Regions from separate parts of the Homo sapiens genome. Here regions 2 and 3 are each linked to region 1. Evidence: promoter capture Hi-C in 16 types of primary human blood cells and fetal thymus (Javierre and others, 2016). All regions are on one chromosome and are shown on one strand. Each heading gives the region's core, a stretch centred on a gene start or on the middle of the fragment in contact. The rest is flanking DNA. Distances are from core to core; before and after follow the strand shown.

Evidence for each region. Contacts are between HindIII fragments. The CHiCAGO score rates a contact against its expected background, and 5 or more counts as called.
Region 2: a fragment that was not itself captured here is called in contact with the fragment with the promoter of ZNF229 in region 1 in 2 of 17 cell types (non-activated CD4 T cells and naive CD4 T cells); the score reaches 10.8 in non-activated CD4 T cells.
Region 3: a fragment that was not itself captured here is called in contact with the fragment with the promoter of ZNF229 in region 1 in 1 of 17 cell types (total CD4 T cells); the score reaches 7.4 in total CD4 T cells.

Annotation. Positions count from the first base shown.
Region 1 is chr19:44,446,682-44,450,059 of GRCh38, forward strand. ZNF229 (zinc finger protein 229) reads right to left here and starts at 1,791. Exons shown (of 6, transcript NM_014518.4): 1 at 1,628-1,791; 2 at 832-919. The HindIII fragment of the contact is 11,359 bases long and covers 1-3,378 here.
Region 2 is chr19:56,917,289-56,920,666 of GRCh38, forward strand. No RefSeq gene overlaps it. Among named protein-coding and RNA genes, the nearest start is that of MIMT1, 78 kb to the left of the region's middle. The HindIII fragment of the contact is 1,775 bases long and covers 896-2,670 here.
Region 3 is chr19:56,887,043-56,890,420 of GRCh38, forward strand. No RefSeq gene overlaps it. Among named protein-coding and RNA genes, the nearest start is that of MIMT1, 48 kb to the left of the region's middle. The HindIII fragment of the contact is 1,842 bases long and covers 664-2,505 here.

The DNA of each region.
Region 1 (3,378 bases), core at 541-3,040:
ATAAACACTAGACATACAGCAGTAAATTAAGATGGAAAAGGTAATTGTTCTCATGGTGCTTACTTTCGGGTGGGTTAATCTCTCTACAAATTAGGTGACCTTTGGTTGCAAAAAGGGCTATGAAGAAAATAAAGCAAACATGATAGATTCCTGTTTTCCAACAAGAATGTAGGTGCTATCAGGTGAACATATGTGGCAGCTGTGGAAAGAGCAACATTAAATCAGGTGGTCAGGGACAGTCTCTAAGAGCTGCCTGACAAATAAATCAGCTGTGAAAAAAGCTGGGATGAGACAAGTCCAGAAGGAAGCATAAGCGCAAAGACCTGGTTTCTGTTTAGAAGGTCTCCTGGCCAGGTCTTACCTGTTAAGTTTTTTTAACTTTTTAAACCTTAGCAACTCATCTGTGACATGGGGATAATAGCTAACATACAAACTTGCTCAGAAAATTCAATAGAAATACATTCATTTATTCAAATATTTATTGGCAAGCCTGGCACTGTCCTAGACACCATGGATAAATAATACCTGGCATATAGTAAGCACTCAGTTAATATACACCATCACAGTTACTCTAATTATTTCTACCCTGCGTTTCTTCAGCATGGCGCTGAAACAGTGTAAGCCTTTACTGACCCAGTGACACACTACTAGGAGCCAAGAAGAGAATACACTAAATAAAGACACTGGGAAATTCCTCAAACCTCCCCCATTTCTAGGGGAAGGCAGGTGTGGCTAAGGGGTCTGAATGAACATTTGTGATATCAATGGGATGAAGAATGAGGTCACCAAGAGACCTGGCATTGCCACAAAAGAGAACCAAAGTTCACTCACCTGGAGCTCTAGTGTCAAGAGATGTGGGGTTATTTCTCCTTCTTTTATACAATTATCTCCGAGAAACGAACAATTCCAAGAAGGAAGCCTGTGAAAGAAAAATGAACAGCAGGATAACATGATTTAATCCCAATTCCCACCACGCCACAGGGGGAAATCTCTCAGTGCCAGCTGGATGTAATCTACCCCTTCCTGTAATCTACCCTCGCTACTTGCTTCAGGAGCCGAGGAAAAGAACCTCTCTTCCTACAGGACTCAGAGTACAAGGGACACGCCATTCCTGATGCCCAAAGAAACCGTCTACAAGCCTACTTTCACTGCCCCTTTCAGGAGACAAGGAGAATCAAGACAAAATCTCAAGATTTTAATCCAGAGCTGACTGTCACATGCTGTGGGACACTTACAAGTGAAATTCTGCCTGTGTGTGCTTAGGCGGCTACAAAAAGCAGAGCCAGCAACGATACAGCAAACCAACTCCTAGGACTTGCACAGCGCTTAATACATTTCAAAGGATAAAATTAGAACACAGGGAATCAACTTCCTGTTTACAGAAATGACTTCGCAGAAAACTCTGAAATTACTCCACAAGTGGGTGGGCGGCTACCCTGAGAAAATTCATGTCATCGATCCGCAACTGACACAGTGGAGTCTCCCGCACTGCAGATCTCATCTCAAAGCCAGAGCTGGCCTCAAACTGCTTTTCCAAGCCTGGACTGCGAGGGCTGCCGACCCGGGCCCACCCCGCACAGGCGCTCAGAATGTTCGATACGTGCGCCTCCTTACACCCCTGCCTCACCAGGCCGAGCTCATGGAAATCCGTGGGCTTCGACCCTCCGCCGCACGTTGTCCCTTCACACTGGTCCTATAGAGCCGATCCTAATTCCCATGGCCTGACAGTACAACCGCATGGAGATGCACGTCTCTAAGACGCCTCACCACTGCCTAAGAAGCAATCAAGGTGACGCGCCCACCGGAAACGGAAGTAGTCGACTCGAGGTGTGGGACTACCTTTCCCAGAACCCTCCGCAGCGCAGTCCGATCCTAGGGGCGATGGTGTCGTAAATGCGCGTCCACCTCGAGTCACGCCCACTGCGAGGCGGCGGGAGGCGGCATGCAAGGTGTTTCTGAGTTGAAAAGAATGTCTTTACTCAGTACTAACATATTCGCGTTGTAGCAAACCTGACTATATTCTCAAACAAGCCCATCATCCCATCACCAGGGATATAAAGCATTATTGATTTTCTGGTGTAAAAGCCAACTAAATATTTATTTCAAAAGTAGTTCATATTACATGTAAAGAATGGTTTAAAAAAAATTCTTACTTAATCCCTGGTTTATGTGAGTAAATATGAATTCTTAAGAATCCCATTTCCCAAATGGCATCATAATATTTTGTAATCATTTCTTGCCACAGGTCATATATCGTGGATAGTTCTGTATGTCACAAAAGACGTAGAGATACATAGAGATAATAAAAAAACACAAATTATTTGCAATACTTGCCTAGCATTCTTTAGTTTTTAGGGAAGTTACCCCTTTGTCCTGCATTGAACTTACACTTCTAATTTTATGATATCAAAACTACACACAATCACTTTCTTTAATATTTTCCCAATTTGATGGACTAAATATCCTGTCTTATTTTCCCAATTTGACAGAGTAAATATGCTTATTACCGATTGCATTTCATTGTCATCTTTTATTGTCATACACTCTCTGTGTATGAATGATATCGCTTCTAAGTGATGAATTGCTCCCCCAGTTTCAACATTTATAAAGTAGTTTAGAAAAAAAAAAAAACAAAAAACTTCATCTGACAAGGTATATCAGTCTTTTCATTTGTGGCTTCTTTTTTTTCTCCAGTATGACCAAAAAGACATTCCTTAGCCTGATTCCCAATAAGTGCATATCTATATTCATTTCAGGCTCTTTCATTTTTCTTTTGAATCACCGCGTGATTCATTTAAGTGTATGATATGAAAGGAAGATGGAGTTTCCTGTTTCACCAAAGGATTGTCTACTTTTCTTAACAAAATTTACATAAATATTAATTCTTTCCTTTCTGATTTAAACGGCATCCTAATCACTTACTACATTACTATATATATAATGAAATATTTTCTGGGATACAAGTGTGTTCTGAAGATAGAGATTGCTTTTTCTGTGCCATGATGAAAGGTTTCAGTTACAGTGATAACTCATTTCCTTATCTCTCCCTCCTTGTTGTGTTTCAAAAATTTCATCCTAGAAGTTCTAGAACTCTCTCTTATAAACAGATTATCGAATTGTTTTGATAAATTCTAAAAAATTGCCAATTGACTCCAAAGCATCCAAGCCCTTCAGATATTTGGTTCCAAACCCACCCCTCTTTGCTTGGGTAGACACAGTCCTACTTCCCATCCTGTGTCCTCCAGTTTTACAAATGTCTGAATTTGCTGCTATTGTTCTTCCCTCTGTAAGTCCATCCTTTCCTGTACTATTAAAATCTTACTCCATATTTAAGACACAACTTGAATATAATTTCCTCTATCGAGTGTTTTTGAACTC
Region 2 (3,378 bases), core at 533-3,032, about 12 Mb after region 1:
TTCACTTTGGCAGATTTATCTCAGCTCTGTAGCTGATTTGCAAATCAGGCTCAAAGACGCATCAGATTTAGGTGTAATTCTCATTATAGGCACTGAGCATTTCTCAGATGTCTTACCCATGTTGAAAACATTTGTGTGATCACACTGGGTAACATATCTGTTAAGAGAATTTCAAAAGACAGGAGTGAAAATGAGTTGGATAATAGAAACCTGTTCTACCTTTTGTATTACGCTTGGTGGAAGCATCCCGAAATTCTCATTTTAAATATAAAAATCCTCAGAACACACTGAACTTCAGTTTGGCTACAATGAAGCAGCTACAGCCAATGTAAAGCTAAACTAAAATCTGCCAAAAAAATGAAACGAAAACTTCAAGTCAGATCATTTAAACAGCACAGAAGTTTCCAGGAACTCCCTTACAATTGGGATCGCTGTAGCTGTCACAAGGAGTTAAAGGAAACATGCTTCTGTCGCTGTTAACTAGCTGCATCCGGTGAATTGGGCAAATTTGGCCATTCAGGGAATTAACCATCCACAAAAGTAAATAAATAAATAAATAAAATAAGCCAGTCATTTGAAGAACTGATTTTCAGGGAATTTATTTAGCGTTGGTAATGTCTAAAAGTTACATGTGTGGTTGTTGGTTTTATGATTATCTTTAATGCATTCCGATGTATATTTATATATACGATCTTCTCCATGCCTGACATATTTCACGGTAAGATAAAGAAATTCCCGTGGCTTATAAGGAATGGAGACTGAATTTGAATTCAAGTTGTTTAGAAAGAAATGGATGAGCACTGAACCCACATATTTGAATTTTTTAAAAGTCCAGCTGACAGATGTTGAATCAGCTTATCCCCCTGCTGGAGAATTTTGCCCCAAGGTAAAAGCAAGCTTTGATTTCAGCACCGTATGCATCGCAGTGAAGTTGGGCAAATGAATGGTGTCTTCCATACACAGCACTACGTGTTTGGCATACGGAATCCCTCCCTTGCCCAGCAGTAAACAGACTTGAATACACCATCTGTTTGCACACCAACTGTTTGCAAGGAAATTTTTTTTCCTTTTCTTTTTTTCTCTGTGAAGTTAATGTTGTGACAACTTTATATTTTCTTTTTTTAAAAAAACAGAAATCTGTGTTTGTGTTTACTTAGACCTGGGCTACCTTAGATGGTTCTCAGGCTCACTTATACACTTTCATGTGTTCCATTAAAAAATGTGATCGCTTTCTTTTTCTTCTGATTTTGGTTGCAAAGGCTAAGAACTTTCAGAACAGAATTTTGTTTTTGTCTTTAATACGGAGACGTTTCGTGTTGTTCTCTGGTTTTTCAGATGGGTGGACACAGAAAAGACAACTAATACCCTGAAATTGGTTGAAACTTGATTATTCATTCTTAAAGTCTGATAATTATAACTGTCCAGTAACTTGATAATTCCAGTTCTGTTTTCCTGTTTAGAACCTCTACTTTCTTATTTGAGAAAAAATGTTTGAGGATGTTATCTCAGTATGTGTTTACTTATCTTAGTACACATTCCCTTGAACTTTTCGCTTATCATGACCATTGAAATATCTTGGAACATCAGTGTTAGAAAAGCAGGAAGAACGTGGGAAACTCCCCCTGTGTGCACGGTGGGCCCCTCTATGAATTGCACCAGACAAATTCCAAACAAAGTGATGGAGAAAATCCCCCAAGAAAATTAGCAGTCTTTTTTATTCAAACTTTTTTATTCAAACTTTTTGTTGTACTGTGTCAACAGCTCTCTGGAGACCACCGTGTGCCCCTCCTGTTCCACAGCCACCCCAAAGCAACTGTTAAAGATGTTTTGTGGGCTGGGCACAGTGGCTCACACCTGTAATCTCAACACTTTGGGAGGCGGAGGCGAGCAGATCACCTGAGGTCAGGAGATTGAGACTAGCCTGGCCGACATGGTGAAACCCTGTCTCTATTAAAAATACAATAATTAGCTGGTTGTGGTGGCAGGCACCTGTAATCCCAGCTACTCAGGAGGCTGAGACAGGAGAATCGCTTGAATCCAGGATGCGGAGGTTGCAATGAGCTGAGATTGCACTCCAGCCTAGGCAACAAGAGTGAAACTCTGTCTCAAAAAAAGAAGAAGAAGAAAAGGAGGAGGAGGAGGAGGAGAAAGAAGAAGAAGAGGAAGAGGGAGAGGGAGAGGGAGAAGGAGATGGAGAAGGAGAAGAAGAAGAAGGAAGACGAAGAAGAAGAAGGAGAAGAAGAGCAGCTACCTTGACAGGGACGTCCACCTTGGAAGGTGACATGCTCTGGGTGAAAAGGAAAGTTGGTTTTATTCCAGAAGTGGCACCCCTGGGGAGGCGGTGAACAGTGGAGGCGTGTTCCAAGACCACCTCTCCACGTGTGCCTCCGGATCAGGGAAATTAGGGGAGCTTAAATGATGGTCAAAGTGCTTTTGGGAAACGTGCACGGGCTCAGGCGGACAGTTAATCGCGGCTTCCTTGGTCAATGTCCCTGGCCTTCTGCAGGAATGCTCAAGCTGTTCTTATCAGGGCGGTCAGCACATTCCCAGGGTGGCTGGTCAGCTGCTCTCTCTTTTATCTCTGTTGAAGGCCTTGTTCTCCGGAGGCTGTTTTTAATAAAGAAGCTACAAACTCGAGCAAAGCAAGGATTCTATGCAAGCAAGCAAGCAAGCTTTTCTCTAACACGGAGTCAGTACTGTGACACAACTTCACTGTCTTCATCCTGTCCAACTCCTCACCTTGGAAAGCCTCCCCTGCACCCCCATTGTTTAAAACAACCACAAAACCCTCTGCACAGCTTTCTTCCCCGAGTCCTCCTGGTGATTCTGCACCTCCTGGGTCTTCTCATTCACTGAACTGAGTGGGTTCCTTCTCAAAACCTGACCTTTAAATACAGACGTTTCTGAAGGACTCTGTCCGGGGCTCCTTCCCTTCCCTCTCCACATCCTCTCCTTGGTGGATTTCATGGGCCGCTTGGCTTTATATGCCGTCCATATGCCCCAGACTCCCTGCTGTAGACTGACTGTGTGCACCCATTCCCCATTCTTATGTTGAACTCTTACCTTCACTGTTTTCCACAATGGCTGAACTAATCTACACTCCCACCAACAGTCTGTAAGCATGCCCTTTTCTCTGCCACCTTGCCAGCATCTATTATTTTTTTACTTTTTAGCAGTAGCTATTCTGACTGGTGTGAGACAGTATCTCATTGTGGTTTTGATTTGCATTTTTCTTAATGATCACTGATACTGAGCTTTTATATATATATATACTTCTTGACCCATCAATCCCATTACTGGGTGTACACCCAGAGGAATATAAATCATTCTATCGTAAAGACACATGCACATGTATGTTCATTGCAGCACTATTCATGG
Region 3 (3,378 bases), core at 335-2,834, about 12 Mb after region 1:
CTTCTTGAATTTCATGGAATACTGTCTCATTCCAGTAATAAGAAAATTCACGGAAGATACAGGCATGACCTAAGTGTTCTCACCAAACATTTTCAGAGTATTCTCGCAATAACCCTTTGACTGGGTACTTTCAGAGATCCTTTTTATTTTCCACATAGGAAGAGATAATTTGTCTAACAGCTACTGAATAAACAGATCCAAGATTTGAACCCTCATAGTTTGGATGGGAATCTGAGTTCTTTCTTTTTTGTTTGTTTGTTTAGACAAGCTCTTGCTGTATTGCCCAGGATGGAGTGCAGTGGCACAACCACCACTCAGTGACACCTTGACCTCCTGGGCTCAAACAATCCTCCCGTCTCAGCCTCCCAAGTCTCAGCACACCTGGGACTACAGGTGTGCATCACCACGCCCAGCTAATTTTAAATTTTTTGTTAGAGACGGGTACTTCCTATGTTGCTCAGGCTGGTCTTGAACTCCTGGGCTGAAGTGATCCTCCCACCTCAGCCTCCCAAAGTGTTGGGATTACAGGCATGAGCCACTGTGCTTGACCAACCCACATCTCATTCAGCTCCTGCACCATTTCTCTTCTCCCCCTTAGAACTAACTCTATAGCCTCATCTTTACTTTTGCATTTCTCTATCTCTCTTAACCTCATTCCAATCAAGCTTTCATCTATACCATTTTACTAAAAGGCCACCAATAATCTCCACATTGGCAAATCCAGTAGTTGAGTTCCAGCTGTCATAAGGACTTGACAATTTGTCACCTGTCCTTCTTCTTCCTTTTTTTTTTTTTTGAGACAGAGTCTCACTCTGTCACCCAAGCTGGAGTACAATGGCATGGTCTTGGCTCACTGCAACCTCCACCTCCTGGGTTCAAGTGATTCTCCTGCCTCAGCCTCCCAAGTAGCTGAGATTACAGGCGCACACTGCCATGCCCAGCTGATTTTTGTATTTTTACTAGAGACGGGGTTTTGCCATGTTGGCCAGGCTGGTCTCAAATCCCAACCTCAGGTGATCTGCCCACCTCGGCCTCCCAGAGTGCTGGGATTACAGGCATTAGCCACCGTGCCTGGCCCAACCCGTCCTTCTTAGAAGACTTGAGTCCACACTGAATTGGGTTCACCAGACCTCCCTGACAATTCTCTCTTCTGGCTTTCTTCCTACCTCCCCTGTTGCTGGATATGGAAGCAATGATACTTTCTCCCCTTTCCTTCTCTATACTCCCTATACCCCACTGGGATAGAAATCCTGTCTCTTGGTGTCAGGCAGGGGTCTCAGGCTACCCCTCCTCTGCTGGGGTGGAAGATGGAGAGGTCAAAAGAGCCAGTCTCCTTCCTGGCCCTTGCAAGGGCCTCCAGCCCGACAGCCAGAGGGATTAAGGACAAGAGGCTCCTGGCATCCCTGAGTCTGACCAGATTGTAGTAGCCAGCCTCCAAAGTGGCCCGCAATAATCCTCACTCCCTAGTAGTGCTCACAGTCTTGTGGTCTCTTCTGACACCGACCCAGAGCTGGTTCATGACCAGCTGAGGCTGAGGGAAGTGTGAAGGGAGAGTCTAGGAAGTTTTTGATTCTCATTTGAACCCTTCCCATTGCAGCTGGAAACAGCAGAACATGGAGGAAGTGATAGTGTGTGTGACTTCTAATGCTAAGTCATAATGGACATCGTAGTTTCCACTTGGATCACTTGCTTGGGAGTAGGGGTAGGAATTCAGCCACCATGTTGTGGAATACTCAAGTAGCCCCTGGAGAGGTCCAGGTGCAGAGGAATCAGCTTGCCAGCACCAACTTGGCAAACTTCGAGTGAGCCACGTAGATTCTCCAGCCCCAGTCAAACCTTCTGACCACCTCATGAGAGACCCCAGACCAGAACTGCCCATCAGAGCTGTTTCCAAATCCCCAACTTTCAGAAACCATAAAAGATAATAAATGATTATTGTTTTAAGTTAATACATTTTTGCATGATTTGTTATGCAGCAAATTGCTAACCAATACATATTCTTTCTCATATTCCTTTCCATGTTTTTCTACTATCATGTCTCAATTCTAGAGTGCTCCAGAGTTCAGTGCTCAGATCTTGTCTACCATCTGGATTTGATACCTAAATGATCCCACACATTGCTAAACTTTGCAATAGCATCTATATATTGTTAAATCTCAGATTTATAGCTCTAGCTCAACATCTCCCATGAATTCCATCAACCCACTGTTTATAGGAAATTTCCACTTAGATGTCTTATAGTACTTTCCATCTTAACATAGCTACGAGTGAACACCTCATCTCACCTCATCCCTGACACAGCTACGTACCCTCAGTCTGCCCATCTCAGTAAATGACAACTCCATCCTCCCAGCTGCTCAGACCTAAGGCCATTTTTGATTCACAGCTCTGCATATCCAATCCATCAGCAAATCCTGGTTGGCCCTCAATATGATAGTGGCTTGGACAATAATACTGATTAGATTCAGGAAGAATGTTCCAGGTGAATGCTCAGAGGTAGAACCAAGCTTATGTTCTCCAGAAACTTCAAGGAGGCTGTGGTGGGCTAAATGTTGCCTTCCCCTAAAAAGATACATCCATGTCCTAATCCTAATATTCAGAGCCTGTGAATATTGCTTTGTTTGAAAAAAAGGTGGGGAGGTGTTGTGGGAGATATGATTATGATTAAGTTAAGGTTCTTTTGTTTTTTTTTTTTGAGAGACAGGGTCTCACTATGTCACCCAGGCTGAGTGCAGTGGGACAATCACAGTTCACTGCAGACTTGACCTTCCAGGCTCAAGCGATCCTCCTGCCTCAACCTCCCAAGCAGCTGGGACTACAGGCATGCACCACCATGCCTGGCTAATTTTTTTTTTTTTTTTGAGACAAAGTCTCGCTCTGTCACCCAGGCCGGAGTGCAGTGGCTCAATCTCGGCTCACTGCAAGCTCCGCCTCCCGGGTTCACGCCATTCTCCTGCCCCAGCCTCCCGAGTAGCTGGGACTACAGGTGCCCACCACCATGCCCGGCTAATTTTTTGTATTTTTTAGTAGAGACGGGGTTTCACCATGTTAGCCAGGATGGTCTCGATCTCCTGACCTCGTGATCTGCCCACCTTGGCCTCCCAAAGTGCTGGGATTACAGGCGTGAGCCACCACGCCCGGCCCTGGCTAATTTTTGCTTTTTTGTAGAGACAGGTCTCACTGTGTTGCCCAGACTGGTCTCAAACCTGAGGATCTCAAAGCGATCCTCATGCCTCAGCTTCCCAAAATGCTGGGATTACAAGTGTGATCAACTGCACCTGATCTTTTACCATTTTTTAATTGTGGTAAAATAGACATTACATAAAAATTTCCATCTTGACCATTTATTTACAGACACAGTTCAATGGTATTAAATAC